3 separate regions of the Homo sapiens genome follow, and all the other regions are linked to region 2. The links are contacts of gene promoters, found by promoter capture Hi-C in blood cells and fetal thymus (Javierre and others, 2016). All regions are on one chromosome and are shown on one strand. The core of a region is centred on a gene start or on the middle of the fragment in contact, and the rest is flanking DNA. Distances in the headings are between cores, read along the strand shown. Region 1 has its middle 23 kb from the start of MIR759. Region 2 holds the start of CNMD (chondromodulin). Region 3 overlaps SUGT1 (SGT1 assembly cochaperone of MIS12 kinetochore complex).

What was found. Contacts are between HindIII fragments. The CHiCAGO score rates a contact against its expected background, and 5 or more counts as called.
Region 1: a fragment that was not itself captured here is called in contact with the fragment with the promoter of CNMD in region 2 in 1 of 17 cell types (M2 macrophages); the score reaches 5.3 in M2 macrophages.
Region 3: a fragment that was not itself captured here is called in contact with the fragment with the promoter of CNMD in region 2 in 1 of 17 cell types (M2 macrophages); the score reaches 5.7 in M2 macrophages.

Annotation. Positions count from the first base shown.
Region 1 is chr13:52,784,302-52,788,880 of GRCh38, reverse strand. No RefSeq gene overlaps it. Among named protein-coding and RNA genes, the nearest start is that of MIR759, 23 kb to the left of the region's middle. RefSeq lists enhancers at 972-1,487, 1,488-2,004. The HindIII fragment of the contact is 683 bases long and covers 2,032-2,714 here.
Region 2 is chr13:52,736,992-52,741,210 of GRCh38, reverse strand. CNMD (chondromodulin) reads left to right here and starts at 1,391. Exons shown (of 7, transcript NM_007015.3): 1 at 1,391-1,581; 2 at 2,040-2,180. The coding sequence starts at 1,510. RefSeq lists an enhancer at 3,320-3,821. The HindIII fragment of the contact is 4,345 bases long and covers 1-3,012 here.
Region 3 is chr13:52,692,539-52,696,708 of GRCh38, reverse strand. SUGT1 (SGT1 assembly cochaperone of MIS12 kinetochore complex) reads right to left here. Exons shown (of 13, transcript NM_006704.5): 13 at 1-4,170. Among named protein-coding and RNA genes, the nearest start is that of SUGT1, 42 kb to the right of the region's middle. The HindIII fragment of the contact is 3,693 bases long and covers 240-3,932 here.

The DNA of each region.
Region 1 (4,579 bases), core at 1,124-3,623, 47 kb before region 2:
TAATTTGCAATTACCACACACCAACTGGTTGCTGATAAAGGCTAAATGTAAAATACCAACAGTATCCGACTTCAAACGGGGGCTTAAAATTGGGGTAGTTACTAACAATGAGGATCAAGGAGATGGGAGGAAAAAAACCTAGGTTTAATTACATATTAGATGGTGCCATCACAGCTCTAAGACAAGTCCAATTCTCAGCAAGAGAATCAATTGCCCTCAGGATGGAAACTCAAATCCATAGAGATGTACAGATACTAGCTTTCTTTTAGAGCCAGGTTGGCAATTAGTTATTAGACTAGTTGTAAAGAGCAGAAACTAGGTGGCTAATCTGCAATTTCTTCCTTCCTCTCCTCCTCCTCCTCCCCTTTGCCTTTTTTTCTTCTTCTCCTTCTCTCTCTCTCTCTCTCTCTCCCCTCCCACTCTCCCTCTTTCTCAATATTTTTATTCTTGTTTATAATGGGCTGGACACTGTACTAGGCACTAGGAATATAAAATAAGAAAGACCATCCCTACCCTCAAGGAACTTACAGCCCACTGGGAGAAGAAGACACATAGAAAATCCAAATACAGTGAAGGGAAATTCCAGGCATGCCTGGAGCACCTAACAGCACCAACCTAGTCAGTCAAGAGTCAGATCAGCTCCAGCACCTGGACGGCGCCCGCCTGATGGGGCTTTGGACATCAGGACAAGTTGCCCAGAGTGCCCTGAATGTCCTAGTGAAGTACAGGGCCCTGGGGCTATGAAAGATCTGGGAAGGTGCAGGAGGTGTTCAGTGCCTTCGGCTCAACACCTAAAGTGAGACAGGAGCTGAGCTCAACCTAAAGCAGCTCCTGAATTCCTCATTGTCTCTGCTCAGTAGTGAACCAGGAAACTCCTAGGTGTCTGAGGTATCGGCCTCACTCATACAGGAAGGTGCGAGTTGGCTTTGAGAAACTATAGGGGAAATCTCTCAGATGGCTTCTCTTTTACCTGTAAAGGGAATCTGGAATTCCACCACTGAAATTTCATTTAGAATCTAGAAATCTTGCATCCTTATTAAAGTATAAAGTTCCCTGGAAAGTCCTGCCCTCAATTTATAAGGAGGTCCCAGGTGAAGAGGTGAGCAGCCGAGAGCAATTTCCTGTGAGGCCCCAGGGGGATCAAAGACTCCTGGGAAGAGTCCTTGGGGGAGGAGAGGAAGAGGGCCTGAGTTACTGAGAGCAAGAAATATGCCCTTTAAAGCATAATGAAGCCAAAATGAAAAAAAGGCATTTTTTTCCTTTGTAATTTCAGAAGTGGGCAGCATTTGTAGTTCTCCCCTTATCTCCATCTGAAGCAAATGCAGACACTTAAGCCTCTTGGCTTCAGAGCGTTTCATTCTTTCACCCTGCAGACTGTATGGAGCACCCACTGTGTGCCAGGCTCTGTGCCAGGCTGGGACAGGAGGGGGTGTCAGAGGGCTTCTTCCTGCCCTCCAGTCACTTTGTGTGGCCAGAGCCTCTGGCACTGGGGCCAGGGATCAAAGGTGCCATGGTGGTGGGCAGTGCCCTTCCTGCAGCTGACTTTGCCCAAAGACCACATCCAGTGCCCTGCAGAGAGGGCCGGACCACCACAGGATGCATCAGCAAACAGCACCTTGTCAAAAGGCTTACCTAAAACCCAGTGCCTGCAGGTTAAAAAATAAACCAACAGTTGAAATGAACATTAGAGGAACAACCTGCCGAGCCTCTTAATCTGTCACTTAAATCTAGGGCTTTTAGCTATAATTGAACATCCTACTGTGACTATTATGAAGAGGAGGAGGAAGAGACATTGAAGTTGTGGTTTAGGAGGGTGGAGGAAAATAAATTTTCCTTCAAAACCAGTCAATAACAATGCCTTTGTGTTAAAGGGATGGAGTGCTGGCCCAGTCACTGCAGAGGAAAACAATACAGCCAGTCATGGAAGGCGGCAGCTGACTCACCATGGAGGCTGCCCATTACCCTGTGTGAGTCTAGAGGACCACTGACAGGCCCAAGGACCGGAAAAGCACCACTGACTTCTTCTAAGCTTGAAAAGAAGCCTCCTTGGCAGATGACTATAAGCAGTATCATCCTAACTGCTCAATCCGACTAAAAGAAAGAACAAAGAAAAGAAATGAAAAATAGTGGGGGAGGAGGAGGGAGAGAAGAAAAGAAAAAAAGAAAGAAGAAAAACCCTCCATAGACTATGGCATCAAAAACTCCATTTACAAGCTCTGAGAAGATCACAGGGTACAGGGGTGATTTTGTGAAGAACAAATTCTTTCAGGCTGATCACCACCCAGCCTCCTGGGAGTTCAAGAGGGAGCGATAGCTCCTTGTCTTCTGGAAGGAGAGAGGATCTTCAAAGCATTCTGTCCCCCTGGAAGGGCAGTGTGGTATAAAAACAGGAGGTGGTTGTGGTGCCTGTATTACTATTATTATTTGACAGAATTGTCTTTGAGAGATTGTTCTCCTGCCTAAGAGGGAAATTAGGCTGAGGGAGCGAATTGTTTCTGCAAATTTCTTCTTTAGAGAAATTGGGCTCCTGGGGTATGAAGAGACATAGTGAGGGGGTCTATGGTGGATACCTCAGCAGGCAGACTCATTACATCTTAATCTTTACCGAGAACCAACTGGATGTGTGACCTTGTGAGAGGTTGAGTGGAACTAAATTTGCTGTAACTCTCTTCAGAAAGGATCAAAATGAATAGTGTACTCCTCACATCAAAGCTTTTCCCAAGAGCACCACGCAAGGGCCACTTTCTTGCCCATCTGGAGTCCCTGCCTTTTAAGTGATCAGAACAGATCCTGAAACACTCCCTTCTTCAAGAATCATGGTCAGAGCCAGGGCAAGAGGAGTGGTGACCCGCTTCAACCTTCCTTTGAATAAATGTGAGTCACTCAGAATACTCCTTCAGCTCATCATGCCAGAAATACAATGGTTGATGCCTTGTTCGCAATCTGAATCTTAATTCCTCCCTACTGTAACACCTCTTTGATCCCTTCCTTGTCAGGGGATGAGACACGCGGGAGGAGTGAAAGTGCCATGTAATTTGGGCTTACTCCTTAAAGCACTGAATCATAAAAAATAAACAAGGAGCCTGGTCGTACTACATGCTTTCCTGCTGAAATAAACAGAGGACATTTCATACTTGAAATTTTATGATTCAGGCCATCGTCTTGAATGAGCATTATATTGTGCGTTTGTAATTCACATACAGTGTGTAATAAAAGGCTAAGTAGTGGTGATTTCTGCCTGTCTGGCTGATGCTTTTAATGGAACCTGATTTTTGAAGCATTACATGTTATTAACTACTTTCTGTAAGTCTGCTCAGGACTAACCCTATCAGGGTTAATGAAGGAAGTGTTAAAAAGACATGGCTCAAGGTAAGAAGCTCCATTACAGAGATCAAAAACCATGTCAGTAATTCATTCCCAGCATGGCTGTGAGCAAGGAGACTTGAATAAATGCTCTTTTGTGTAATGAGGGTGGTGGCCATGGCAGGGAGAGGCATCAGTTAGGATTCTTGGTGTGAGCAACAGAAACCAACTCTGGTAACTTGAGCCAGAAAGGGTATTTATGGGAAGAATTCTAAGTGGGTACCAGTGTTTAAGGAAGAGCTGAACAACCAGGTCCCAGAAAGAACTAAGTGAAGGCTGCTCCCATGAACTCAAAAACAGGACTCACGGCCCCCTCTCTAGGATGCTGACATACCATCATTCCACTGCAATCACCTCCAGTGCCTGCGTGTCTCCACTCAAGAGCGGATTCCTGGGAGAGGTGATGGTGATATAATTGGCCCATTTGAGGCCATGAGTCTATCCCTGCACCAAGTAGATGGAATCCTGTATTTGGCAGCCCCATAAAACCCACAAAGAATGAAGAAAGGTTATCTCTCCCAAAGAAAGGAATGTTGAGTGGACAAAAATAACAGATCTCCATTAGAGACAGCCTCACTGACACAAATCTACCCATTTTCACATTCCCTAAAGTCTAGACGCTCCTGGTTTCATCTGAATGTGTCTTCCTATCCCAAGAACTGGCCTATAACCTGTTCTTCCTTCAGAGGTCGTCATAGGCAGAATGTACTCCCCCGCCTGCTCCACAAAAAGGTCCATGCCCTAATTCCCAGAACCTATGAATAGGGGCCTTTGCAGCTGTGATTCAGCTCATGGACTATAAAATACAGCAATTAGCCTGGTTTATCCAGTGGGCCCACATGAGTCAGGGAGATTCAGGACAAGGAAAAGTTGGAGAAATCCTGAGCATGAGAGGAACAAGATGCCCTGCTGCTGGAGAAGGGCCACATGGAAAATACAAGAAGGAATTCAAGTAGCACTGAGGAACAAGGATAAGCCTCTGACAGGCCAGCAGGAAACCAGGGACCCCATCACACAACTGCAAGGAACTTGATTTAGCCAACAACCTGAACGAGCCTAGAGCTGGGTTCAGACGTGGAAATTCCAGAAAGGAACCCAGCCTGGACATCTTAATTTTACCCTCGAAGCAGAGAGCTCAATAAGGCCACACACTCTACTTAAACTTCTCACCCACAGAGCTATGAAATGAAACTTTGTGTTGTTTTAAGCCACTAAA
Region 2 (4,219 bases), core at 142-2,641:
AGGTCTTTGAACTCTGCCTCAGCAGTGCCCCAGGGATGAGCCCTGGCTGGAGATCTTGCTGGAGTTTTTTCCAAGCACCTTAAGTCTAGTGTGATGTGCAGACAGCTGTTTCCATAGCTGATTCCAATGCAGGCTCAGGACATTTCCTTGGCTCTTTTACTTTTCATCCCCACATCAAGCTCAACATGTCTAAAACTGTTTCTTCCAATTTTTTCACTTCCCTAGGGTTCCTATCACTCTCCCAATCCTCCTAGGTCTGAAAACTCAGTTCCCACAGCCCAGGAATTGCCAAGTCCTATCGATTCTTCTGTGAAAGTGGTCTCCTCCACTTCTCCCCTCCTTCCCAGCCCCAGGTCATCATGCTTGTCACCTCATTCTTCATCACATGTCTTGGATGATTCTTCAACACTTTCTCCTTCTGCAGTCCTGCACATGCAATCTCCCGCTGCCCTTTGGGGAAGCCTCAATCCCTCTCATGCACTAGTGCTCCTCACTTACACCTCACCAGAGAGCTCTGCACAAAGCTAGAATCGAACGCAATTTAAGGAAGCCTGGATCCAAATGAAGTACCATGTATCCTGGAACTGGAAGATGGCATTTCCAAAAGTGAAAATTTTATATACATACATACATACACACACACACACACACACACACACACATTTGTGTTATTCCTTTGGATACATCAGTACTCTGTGTGTGTGTGTGTGTGTGTGTGTGTGCTTTGCCATTGTTGCTTTTGTTTGCACTTATTTAATTTATTCAACCAACCAGCATGCACTTTTATTCTGGTCTCCCCAACTCCTTCCCTCCAGCCCTGCTCTGCTTAGCTCTCACTTTTGCTGCAGTTGTACCCAGACCCTAGAAAAACTGGTGGCAAGGAGCCATCCCTAAGACCCTGCTCTGTTTTCCAGTCCCAGGGGCCATCCAGCAATGCCAGGCCAGTGAGAAGGTGGCCTAACCCTTACACTCTTAGGCCAGTGTCCCCTGTCCACCTGCACCACTCTGTTGTCTTCTCCTTCACCTTCCATGAGCCATCTTCCCCCCACCCCCACCCCAACACACACCTACAAAGACCCTGCAGGAAATGGCCTCCAGCCAGTTGTCACAGCAGAGCCCGCTGACATTCTAAGACATCCTCCGGTGCATGGCTAATTGCTCTGGCACTTGAGTATTTCTTTGGGTCCCAGGATTCAGCATCCCGCTCTGAGGGATGCAACCACCCCCACACATTCAGAGTCACCGGGATGCTGTTTGGGGGGCCAGTAGACAGGATAGAGTGAGGAGGAAAGGGGGCATCCGGGAGTGCAGGACGAGCTTCCCGCGGCGGGAGAGAGAAGGGAGGAGAGAGGTGAGGCGCTGGAAGGGGTGGGGACCGCTGGGCTGGCCCAGGCGGGACCGTGCACCGTGTGTGCGCGCGGCGTTGAAATGCCCTGCACGTCGGGGCAGCGGGACAGATCCCAGGGTGCCCAGGGAGTCTCCAAGTGCCTCACTCCTCCCGCCGCAAACATGACAGAGAACTCCGACAAAGTTCCCATTGCCCTGGTGGGACCTGATGACGTGGAATTCTGCAGCCCCCCGGTGAGTACCGCCAGGGATTCCACACGCAGGGCCTGGGTTGTGTGAGTATCAGGTTCCACAGTTCGGACTCAGGGGTGCGTGCCACCGAATGGGTGTGTTGGCGGGGGGATAAATTTGGGTCCCAAATGTGTGGGTGGGATGTCGCCCCACGCGTATGAGTGTGCAGGGGTCACGGCATCCACAGGCGGGTGCGGAGGGACGTCCCGTGGCCGGTAGAGGGTGCAGGTCCTGGGGCGAAGGCCCTGTGCTGCGGGGTTTGCTCATCCCACTTCCACGCCCGACTGCAAAGGACCCTCGGGAGGGAGCGCGGCGAAAGGGGCACCCGTAGGAGCCCGGGCGAGCTGTTTCCCGCCCGACTCCCCACTCCCTGGGGGCTACCGCGTGGGGCCCGGGTGCGCTGGGGGCCGCAGGTGCTGGCGGCACAAACGCGACGGTCCCTCTCCCGCCCCGGCCCGCAGGCGTACGCTACGCTGACGGTGAAGCCCTCCAGCCCCGCGCGGCTGCTCAAGGTGGGAGCCGTGGTCCTCATTTCGGGAGCTGTGCTGCTGCTCTTTGGGGCCATCGGGGCCTTCTACTTCTGGAAGGGGAGCGACAGTCACGTAAGTCCAGAGGGCGGCGCGCGGGGACCCCCGTGTCGCCCATGGTGCCCCTAGGGGGAGCCCGAGCGCGGGCCGGCGAGGGGCGCGCGGCTGCCGGCGGGCCCCTCGGGCCCAGCGTGAGCTCCCCTCTCCCATCCCACTCTGGCACGCGGCTTTCCGCCTTAGGTCAACGTTGTAGAAAAGCAAGTGAAGGTTTCACGGGAGAAGATTGAAGCGTAGAGTAGGGGAGAATGTAGTGGACGGTCCGAGAAAGGCCGTTCTCGGCTCATCTCCCACTAAGCAGTGGCGCGACCGTGGGGAAGGCACGTCACCTTTTGGCCTCAGTGTACTCGTCCTGAAGGGAAAAAATGGAACTGGACGATCTCTAAGGCCTGTCCCTGCTAAGAAAGGCTGTGGGTTTAAAATCCAGGACAAAGATAGTGGAGGAATATTCAGACCCATATTCAGACCCATTGGGAAGGAATTTTTGCCTTTCAGAAGGTTTTTTTGTGACCTAGCCATGAACATTCCCTTCTCTCTCTGGAAAACAAAAACAAAAAACAAACAAACAAACAAAACGTCTAACTTCCTTAAAGGTGGAAAATCTCTTTAACAATTAATTCTGGCCTAGTCATCACATGTGGTTTAATAGTAGGTGTTTTACTAACTGCTGTCCTACTTTCTTTGTATGCAACTATTTATTTTAAAGCTCCACGGCTCTCGAGGAGTATAAAGACTGTTTCTAAGTTGACTGGGCAGAGCTCCAGTGTGTTCTCTAAATACTCTGAAAGTGTTCACCTATGTAAAAGGGGGCATTTTATCTTGATGACCACTGCCAGGTCTGGTATAAGCTTATTTCAACTAATGGAAAAGAATTCCATCTCCAGGGCACACACAAAGGGCTCTTTCATAATCACTATCCTCAGAGGATTGGTGATTGCTGTTTTTTCCTCTCTCCTACCATGAAATGCAAAGCATGAACGAATTCCAGTACTTACAGAAAATGGTGCTGAAAGCAATTCAACCATTTTACACATCACGTCTTCTGCAGTCACTGCATAATTTGTATTTTTAACTCAAATGTCTAATGTAGATAAGCATGCCATTTAGCACCGAGTCTGTTTTAGAGACTATATCAAATTTACAAGCATCGATTTGTAAGATCAGAATTGCACTGTATTTTGTGGGTATTTGAAAAGTGCCTTAATGTATTTGTATTTTAAATATAGAAGCTGGGCCAGATGCTCATGTTTGAAACAGCAAATGTGAATAAGAGAATGATTTCAATATCTACATCTCCATTAATAGCAGGGTTTAGATTGTCATCTCTTTGGGAAATTCTGTGGTTTTAGAATGTAAATGCTATCTTTTAAATAACAAAGCCTCAATGGTATAGGTCAATGGGGGATAACAATAGCTATGCTTTTTTTTGGTAAAGATTCTGGACATGATATATTTTAAAATGAATACCATTTGTCATTTAATTATTCAAGGTAAACATCACTAACTGACAGGCTTCTAAAAAGAGAGATTAAACAATCATACTGAATAAGCACAGCTCCCTTTTTTCATATATTTTACTTTACTGCAAGATGGTTGGTTGTCTGGTTCAGGAGAGCAGTATTAAATGCTAAGAATTCAGAGGAATAGTGAATCACATTTTATTGTCAACAATCAAAATTATTGCTATATCCTATACAGACAGGAGAATGAAGAAAATCATGATAGTTTTTTTCTCCCTGATCCATATGACTTAAGTATGAAAAACAAATCACAAAATACTAAATAGAGTAATTTTTGCACCACCTAGGCATAGCACATGCACAGGTCTGCTTTGCCTGAATACAAATCTAAATAGCTCAGACAAAACGTAATCAAAAAAGGTAAGTCTTTGTCAAACAGAAAGACTTGTCAAACCAAATGGATTATCCACTCTTTGGGGATTATCTGTGCCTCGGCTCCTCTATATTGGTTTATAGAGGAGAACCAGCTGTAATTCACCTCCTATCCTTTTCATGTGGGTAAATCCCCTTAGGACAGGTTTACTGAAATTTAGCTGG
Region 3 (4,170 bases), core at 837-3,336, 45 kb after region 2:
CACAATTATCACGCCTGTGAACAGCCACTGCACTCCAGCCTGAGCACCACAGCAAGACCTCATCTTTTTGAAAACAAATTACTATTCTATTTACATTGACAAATAAATGATCAACTTTAAGGGCTTGACATTTTTAAAAAACCCCAATTTTAAACACTATGGTTTGGGATGAGTAACTTCCAATATTTGAGTACATACTATGTGAAAGGCACTACGCTATGTATCAAAGATCCAAAGCTTAAGTAAATAACACTAACTGACCAAGACACACAAGGTAAAACAGACACAGCCGCAACTAACCCTATAACATGTGACACCATGAAGGTGTCATAAATAGAGGCATAAACAAGGCACTCCCACATCACAACTAGAGTGGCAATGCATTTCAGTAGAGGGCATGGAGAGGGGAGTTCCACAAGAGTACTGACATTTTAATTGAGATCTCATAGAATGAATGGAAGAAAATAAGGGCATTCTGTGCAGTGATAAGACCATGAGCAAATCCATCCAATTCTGGGAGCCTGTTCTCTATGTACCAGGTGCTACACATACAAAGATGGAAGCTAGACCGCGCCCTCAAGAAACTCAGTCACACGGGGGAAGAAATGAACCAACTGTAATGTACTGGTCTGACAAACAAGGAATAGATTAGCACTCTCAAGCATGCTCATGACATGTTGTGGTTTTGGTATGACTCCATCAAAGGATCCAGTGATGTCTCAACCATAAGCAAATAACCCAATCCAATGCCACAAAAGTCAGTAACAGAGTTGCAAAAGATTAGACTGCTTTCCTGGAGGTAGCATACAAACTCAGTTTTGACACATCAGTAGGAAACTGGAGATGCCCAGGAGGGGCAGAAAAAGGAATGAAAATACACGACATATTCAGAAACAGCAGATGTCTGAACACTAAAAACAAAGAATATGCAATAGACTGTAAGTGCCCTTTGCAGAAAAAGTTTGACCATGACTAGAAGATTCTTGTGTGTCTGGGAGCTTTAGTACACAGCAAAGCAGTGACAAGAGATGTGGCCAAAAATTTTGGCTGGGGTTGAATTCTGAAAACTCTTGAATAGCAGGTAAATGCCAGACTCACCCTCCTTTGAAGAATTTCAACACTAAACAGGACTGAGGGGAAAAAATAAATCAAGGACTTTACATTTAAGTAGCATTTATTGGTAACATAATTTGAGTCAGGACTTAGTTATTAAATCCTCACAATCCTGAGGGTTAATTATCATCCAGTGTTATAAAAAAGAAAAAAGTTCAGATAAGTCACTTGCCCTCAAAACACACAATTATGAAAGTATCAGAACTGGGATTTTAAGAGTCTAGATTCATAAGTTACTACTCCTTCCATTACAAAACAACACCTGTCTCTGTGGTGAAGTATAATTTTTTAAAGTCAATTGTTTTGAAATAGCAAAATAATAACAATAATAAAGGAAATGCACTCAATTTCTTAAGCATGTTTCATCCCCCACTGGATATATATCCTCAGCCTAAGCTCATTACTTATGAATGTGTTCACTTTCAGTCACTTCAAGCCACAGAAAAAGTTTAGAAAACAGATAATCAGTAAAAAGTGGTAGTTGTGAGAACTCCCAGCTGACAGTGAGCCCATATTAATGTCTACACACTTGTATATGCTCCACACTGATTCATTTGGGGCAAGAATAATAAGATTGATGAATTAACTCATAAAAACATCTACCAGCAGGCTGGGCATGGTGGCTCACGCCTGTAATCCCAGCACTTTGGGAGGCCGAGGCGGGCGGGTCACAAGATCAGGAGATGAGACCATCCTGGCTAACACGGTGAAACTCTTGTCTCTACTAAAAATACAAAAAATTAGCCGGGCATGGTGGCGGACGCCTGTAGTCCCAGCTACTTGGGAGGCTGAGGCATGAGAATGGCGTGAACCGGGAGGCGGAGCTTGCAGTGAGCCAAAATGGCGCCACTGCACTCCAGCCTGGGCGACAGAGCAAGACTCCGTCTCAAAAACAAAAACAAAAACAAACACAAACAAATATCAGCTTCTTTTCACTGATGGGAATAACAAGACAATCTGTGGTTTATAAACTGCGTGATTTTGTACCTTGTATTTTTCACAAATCCTAATAGTTTTACCTTCTGTTTTGAGCTTTGAAATTGAAATGAAAACCAGAGAACTTCCGAAAGTTCCTTAACATTCTACATCTAGTTTATATTTTCTGCCACTATTTTATTTTACGATTCTTTATAAAGTGCTGACAATACTTACATAATTAAGCTCTGTTTAAGTAAAATTATTAAAAACTTTTCATGAATTCTTATGCTCTCCAAAGTACAAATTTTATAAATTACAGTAACAATTGTTAACTAGGTGATATACTTTCCTCAGACAGAATTCCACATCTTGAAAGACTGAACTTACAACACAAAAAAATCTTCTCTAGGATTTCCACCTTCCAGCCTAGGATCATCTGATGTTATCTGTCACATGAAGCACTGCTCTTTGCACTTCACACACATAGATACACAATTCCAAAACCCTCAGATGAGTTTTTGAAGTCAGAATTTTGGATTTTAGAAGATAATGCAATACAGATAGACTATTAATAGTTCCCCTTTATCCATGGTTTTGCTTTCCACAATTTCAGTGACCCACAGTCAACTGCTGTCCAAAAATAACTGTTCACATAAGTTTTATTGCGGTATATTGTATATTCTATTATTAATATCTTACTGTGCCTAATTTATAAACTTTATCATAAGTATACATGTATAAAAAATGTACATACAGCATTCAGTACTGGGGGTCTTGGAATGTATCTGCCACAGTTAAGGGGCAACTGCTGTATTTTGTAACAATTTCAGCAGGATCAGTGCTAGCATTCTATAATTAAACATTTAATATTTCTGCTGCAAAATGTGACTATTCATATTATAAATTCAGGTCACGTTTTATATCACTTGTCATACAGATGCACATGCACACACACACACACACACAAAACATTAGTATTTTGAGCCTTCTGGATTAAGATACCTGTGGAGTTACATGAATTCATTCAACTAAGACCATGAGGCATGAGGGGGATCCTATTATCTCCTTTACATAGACACAAAAACTGAGGCACAGAGACATTAAGCACCTATATCCATTGTCACACAGCTAGTAAGCAATGTAGCCAGGATGATCCCAAACAGGATGGCTTCAGAGTCCATGCATTTAACCACTATGCAATACTGTCTTTTCATGTACTTAACAAAAGCTCTAAATATATATTAATAGTATGCGCAATTGTTTATTATTTAGATCTTCTGTGGCTGCATTATAGGGTACAGTTTTTTAAAAAACCCTATATAGGTATTAAGGACCATTTTCCTAACTCCTTCTAAAGAAACTGAAAATTACCTTTAGGTAAATAGCAGTGTTTCTGAAACATCTTTTTGTATAACTGAATCCTTTAATCATAGGAAAAAATAAAGTCAATGATATAGGTAGAAGTCTCAATGTAAAAATAAAACTAAAAATCCAAATGTGAAGGCATACCAAATATTTAAGACTCCAGACAAGCCAAAATTCAAATATATATATATATACAAAATGCTAACATAAGTTAGGAAAAAGGAAATAACCTGAAATATTCAAATTTTATTGGAGAAATCAGTGATACACAAATCCTAACATGTCTGTAGGAATAAAACCTTGAAACAATCTCAGCATTTGTACAACGGAACTGGTATGAGAGCTCCCAAGTTAAAGGAAAAAAAGAATTTCATTGGCATCATGTACCAGTCTTCTTACACATGCAACAGTTGTTAAAAGTACACTGTTTCTCTGTAATGATCTAGATTTGAGAAAAACAGCACCCTCTCAAAAATCAGACTACTTCTTTGCATTACTTCCAGTATGAGGCAAAAGATTTGGATTCCTAATAAGCTTTCCTACTTAAGAAAGTGAGGATCTCTAGGAATTTATCTTCCCAGCTCCTATATAAGAATTAGTTCTTGGCTGGGCACAGTGGCTCACGCCTATAATCCCAGCATTTTGGGAGGCCAAGGTGGGCGGATCATGAGGTCAGGAGTTCAAGACCAGCCTGACCAACATGGTGAAACCTCGTCTCTACTAAAAATACAAAAATTAGCTGGGCATGGCGGCCCATGCCTGTAATCCCAGCTA